Regions from separate parts of the Homo sapiens genome. Here region 1 is linked to region 2. Evidence: promoter capture Hi-C in 16 types of primary human blood cells and fetal thymus (Javierre and others, 2016). All regions are on one chromosome and are shown on one strand. Each heading gives the region's core, a stretch centred on a gene start or on the middle of the fragment in contact. The rest is flanking DNA. Distances are from core to core; before and after follow the strand shown.

Region 1 (2,700 bases), core at 65-2,564, 1.1 Mb before region 2:
CCTCGGCCCCACACACCACACCTCAGCCTCAAAACCCCCGCTCAGGGGCCTAAGAGAGAATTTCCCAACAGGGCTGCCAGCAGTGGGAGCCTTGGATGCCTCTGTAGGGCTACTCCAGGTCCTCCCTGCCCCTCTTCCCCTCAGTGTTCTTTGCCAGGCACAGAGCTCAAGCCTGAGTCATGATTGGGCCCACAGGGGACTCAGGAACACAGCATTGCTCCTGTCAGCAGTTCCAGGCATTCTCCTTTACACTGAATTCTGAGCTTCGGAACCACTCCCTGTCCACTCCCTCCCGGTGCTGCGAGGCCTGGCCCTACAGCCTGGAGTGCAGCCACCCCTGACCAAGCTCCCTGCCCTGGGCTCTAAGATCCCCAACTCCTCCTCCTCATCTCCCACCCCAGCCCAGTGGGTGGGTGCCTCCATGGCTCACCATTTATTCATTCATTCATTCTTTCCCAACTAGTCTCAATACCCTGTTTCATTTCCCTCAGGGGCACTTAGATTCCCTGAAATTGTCTTAGGTGTGTATTTGCTCCTACAGGGACTGTCTCCCCAACTATAATGTAAGCCCTATGACAGCAGGGACCTTGTCTGTCTTGGTCACCACTGTATATTGAGCTGTACTGGCGCTCAATAATTGTTGGTTGATAATTGACTGGCTAAATTATGTTAACGTTAGTTGAGCAACCACCATGGTGCAGGCACCTTGCTAGGTGAGAGGAAATGCAGTCAAATGAGTCCCCTTGGGTAGGTAGTTCACAGCAGGAGCAGAAGTGGGGCGCTGCACCCACAGGATGAGCTATAATGCAGGCACCACAGGACCTGGTGCTGAGAGGAACAGAAGAGGCACTTGACCGAGCCCCAAGCCAGGGCTTCTGCTCACCTACAGCCCCAGCTCCCACTCACTTCCTTTAGGAAGCCCACCCCCATTCTCAGACAGGGCAGCTCCCCATCAGGTGCTCACCCAGCACCATATGCCTCTCCATAAAGGCAGAGCAGTTGACAGAGTTGTCCTTCTACATTTGCTTATGTGATTATTTCCATCATCCAGAAAGTTCGATTAAACAGCCCAGGGCTAGCCTGTATGCTCAGTGAGGCAGGGACTTTGTCTGTGCTCTGCTCACTGTCGCAGCCCCCACCCTAGCGTGGATCAGGCACAGAGGGCCCTCAGTCAGTATTTGTTGGATGGATGAATGGGACAGGGAAAGGGCGAGGCCTGAGTGCTCCCCCAAAAGGAGCGGTTCCTCTTTCCTCCCCTAGAGGAGTATGTCCTTAGCCCCCTGTGTTCATCTACCAGCGACAGCATCCCATCCTTCCCCAGGACCCACAGTCTCACTTTGTTCCACAGCTTCTGCTTCTCACTTGACATAGAACGTCAGGGCTTCTGCCTCCTGGTACCACTCACATCATATATGCCCAAAACCGAATGTGATGGTGCCCCCTGCAGCTGGGCAGCAGCCTTGCCAGGCAGTGAGCTTCTTGGCTACATTCCCACCTCCACCAGTGCTCTGGGCAATTTTTAGCCAACATGTCATTATCATCACCAGTCACCATGCAGTGCCTGGCTCCTGTCACAGAGGCTTCAGTTCTGGCTGGCTCAAGAAGTTTTTCCAGCTTTTCAACACCATTTCTTGGTTGCTTTTCCCTCAACTCTTCCCCAAGAGACGCCAACCTGAGTCAGTACCCACCACACCCTGGGAGAGTTAGAATGCTCTTGTGGGGACTTTCCCTCTGGGGCCCTTCTGTCTTTTAGGGCAACCTTGGGGACCTGCCCTCCCTTCTCACTGGCTAACCTGTTTCGTCTTCTTCCCCAGCCAGGAAGTGTGCTACAGGCACGTGGCAACCCCCATGGGCCATCAAGCAATTTCCCCAGCCTGACTCAGAAGGAACTGGGGAGCAGGGAGAAGAGAAAGAATGCAAGCATTCAAACCAAGTGTCCAAGGAATGGTCAGTTGTGGGGAATGGGCAGTGGAGAGGATCTTCTTGGGCTCTGAGTTACTCTAGTCCCCTGCTCCATCCCAGGGATCAGCATCTTTCAGAACTTCAGAGTGGAGAGACTCTGGTCTCTGAATGTCCACTACTACGTTCTCACAAAGTGGTTGACCAACATATGCTTGAATGCCTCCCACCTCTCATTGAGGCCCATTCTACCTTTGGTAGAATAATTAGCTTTAATTATTAGAAAGTCCTTCCTCATAAAGGATCTACATCCACTCTCTGGTCTTTGGTCTTTGCTCTCAAGATATGCAGAATCAATTCGGTTTCTATTCCAGGAGTTGAAAGACCATTATCATCTGCCCCTTGAATCTTCTCTCCCAGTTCAGTATCTTCATGTCTTCCCTGTGGTCATGGGCTCTTCTCACCATCCTGATTTCTACCTCTGGACTCTACAGTTTGTCTCTGTCCCTCTCAAAATGGGCCACACACTCCTCACAGGGTTTGACTCTCACAGAGTCTGGGGCCTATGAGCCCCATTGTTCTGGGTACTAAAGCTCTCTTAGTGCATCCCAAAGTCATGTTAGTGCTTTTGGCAAGCAGATCACAGTCAATTCTTTCCAATCTCTTATCAGCCAGAGTCCTCCTGTCTTCATACACTATCGTTATTCCACCCCTCACGTATCTCACTCTTGTGCAGCTGATTATCTGAAGACCAAAGAACCAGAGTGTAATTCTGTCCCTATTCAATACCACATGACAAAT
Region 2 (2,700 bases), core at 17-2,516:
AATATATTTAATAAGGCTAAAAATAACTTTATTTTAGACTTATAGTGTTGTCCACTATATTGCTTCATGCTGTTTTTTCGAAATAATTTACAATTATAAATAGACATTGTTGCTCTCACCTTAAGGCAGCAGTTTCTGAGTGAAATTCTTCAAGAAAGTGGAGGCATCATTTCGATATGGTAATAAGCTAGTTATTCTAACATCAACAAGTATGTTTCATGATCAGCGATATACTGATAATTCCCCATGTGTGCTTTTCAAATAGTTTATAAATGCAAAAATATTAGAAGTTGCAGGATCAGGGTTTGAGTCATTTTTTTTCATGTTTCAGCCAGTCCTAAATAAGAGCTGTGAACAACAAGGCTACCTGGTGATTTTGTTTTTTATCTTTTTGTATGTGCATGTGGTTTTTCTGGCTTTTTGTTTTGTTTTGTTTTTGAGACAGGGTCTTGCTCTACCTCCCAGGCTGGAGTGCAGTGGCGTCATCATAGCTCACTGCAGCCTTGACCTCCTGAGCTCAAGCAATCCTCCAGCCTCAGCCTCCTGAGTAGCTAAGACTACAGGCCTGCACCACTGCACCCGGCTAATTTTAAAATTTTTAGTAGACGGGGTCTCGCTCTGTTGCACAGGCTGGTCTCAGACTCCTGGGCTCACGTGATCCTCCCCTGTCAGCCTCCCAAAGCGCTGGGATTACAGGCGTGAGCCACCGCGCCTGGCGATTTTGTTTCCTCTGTACTCTTCGTAGCTCACAATTACGCTAAAAGAACCTTTTTCCCATTGTTAATTCCTTCCATTTCCCTCCCCCACCCGTCGATTCCCCCTATTTTTAGGAAACTCGAAGATGATGTCCTTTCAACGTTCTCTCCTGTATTCTCAAATACAGGATCCAGTCCTAAATATTTTTTAATACATTGGCTAGTTTATTTCTGATGGCATTAAAAGTATCGGCACAACTGTTCCCTGATTTATAAAGCTCACAGATGCTGTATGACCTGTAACATTATACTAGCTAATGAGCTCTCCCGGAACAGTTGACGTGGAAGGAGTTTACTTCCACTTGGTTGCAAGGAGAAAGATGGAGAAAGCGAGAGACGATTGCAAAAAGAAATAACTTAGTCCATTTTCTCAGTGCTGTTTGGGGGCTTTGTGCTAATACTTAAATTGCAGAGGAGGGAGGAGACGGGACTGAGGATGGAGGGGAGCAGAGGAGGCAGGGGCGGAGCCTCGGCGGGCGAATAAAACCCCTCGCTAAAGAGAAGCACGTTAGTGTGTGGAGAAGCCACTCTCCCGAAACCAGAGGGATGGGGCCGGCTGTGCAGTAGAACGGGGATCGAAAAGAGGAAAACAAGGGCACGAAGACCAGCGAGAAAGAAGAGGACACCTGGGAAAGGCGGAAGCAGAAGACGGGGAAGGGAAAAGAAACCCAAAGCAGGTGGAAACCAGATCTAGAGCAACACCGTCAGGTTCACAGTTTGTTTTTCTAGAAGAGAAGAAAGTACCTGAGGATTGCTCTTTTTTCCTACCGTTAATGAAAACTACTTTTGTCTTCATCATAAAAGAAAAAACTAAGGGGAGGTAAAGGCAGTCTCCTGTTTTATTAGGGGGAGAGGTGAAGGGAAATCCAGGCTCACTTTCTGAATAAGCCACTGCCTGGTGCACAGAGCAGAACCATCCTGGTTTCTGAAGACACATCCCTTTCAGCAGAATTCCAGCCGGAGTCGCTGGCACAGTTCTATTTTTATATTTAAATGTATGTCTCCCCTGGCCTTTTTTTTTTTTTTTTTTTTTAGCAACACTTTTCTTGTTTGTAAACGCGAGTGACCAGAAAGTGTGAATGCGGAGTAGGAATATTTTTCGTGTTCTCTTTTATCTGCTTGCCTTTTTTAGAGAGTAGCAGTGGTTCCTATTTCGGAAAAGGACGTTCTAATTCAAAGCTCTCTCCCAATATATTTACACGAATACGCATTTAGAAAGGGAGGCAGCTTTTGAGGTTGCAATCCTACTGAGAAGGATGGAAGAAGGAGCCAGGCACCGAAACAACACCGAAAAGAAACACCCAGGTGGGGGCGAGTCGGACGCCAGCCCCGAGGCTGGTTCCGGAGGGGGCGGAGTAGCCCTGAAGAAAGAGATCGGATTGGTCAGTGCCTGTGGTATCATCGTAGGTGAGTTCCATTCCTTCCCGCGGACCCCTCCTCTCCCCTCTGGTGGTCCTCCTGTGAGATCTTAACCCTTCGAAAGCATTATTGTTCTTCCTATTCCTTAGAAAAGGATTGTCAGTCACCTGAGCTGTAACTCACCTCCACTGGTCAAGTTTGAGAGGCATAGGAAATACATCATACATCTCTTCCTCCAAACCAGGCAAAGATTCTGCCCAGTGTTCATAGAATGGAGCAAATCGTGGTCAGAAACCCGGCTGATGATTAGCATTGCCTGGGAACTCCTTAAAAATACAGGTCCTGGTCTCGACACTTGGAGGTTCTAGTTCAATAGGTTTAAGGAGGGACTGAGGGACCTGAACAAGTTTGTATGCAGCTATTATTCCCAGGCTGGGGATGGGCTTTTAAGGTATATTTGGTAGCTATTTTGCAGTTTTATGTTAAATGAAACTATGGGATAGGTATTAAAAATAGCAAGAGCAATGCCCTGCCTTTTTATTTTAGCGTTTTCCACCTTATGCAGCACTTTTACTGTGTGAAGTAG

The links. Contacts are between HindIII fragments. The CHiCAGO score rates a contact against its expected background, and 5 or more counts as called.
Region 1: a contact is called between a fragment that was not itself captured here and the fragment with the promoter of SLC7A8 in region 2, in 1 of 17 cell types (M2 macrophages). The highest score is 6.6, in M2 macrophages.

Annotation. Positions count from the first base shown.
Region 1 is chr14:24,278,542-24,281,241 of GRCh38, reverse strand. It overlaps a transcript of NOP9 not described here. Among named protein-coding and RNA genes, the nearest start is that of RABGGTA, 8.3 kb to the right of the region's middle. RefSeq lists enhancers at 1,228-1,307, 1,648-1,797 and a silencer at 2,355-2,585. The HindIII fragment of the contact is 3,842 bases long and covers 1-2,700 here.
Region 2 is chr14:23,182,226-23,184,925 of GRCh38, reverse strand. It overlaps SLC7A8 (solute carrier family 7 member 8), which reads left to right and starts at 1,266. Exons shown (of 11, transcript NM_012244.4): 1 at 1,266-2,162. The coding sequence starts at 2,012. The HindIII fragment of the contact is 7,114 bases long and covers 1-2,700 here.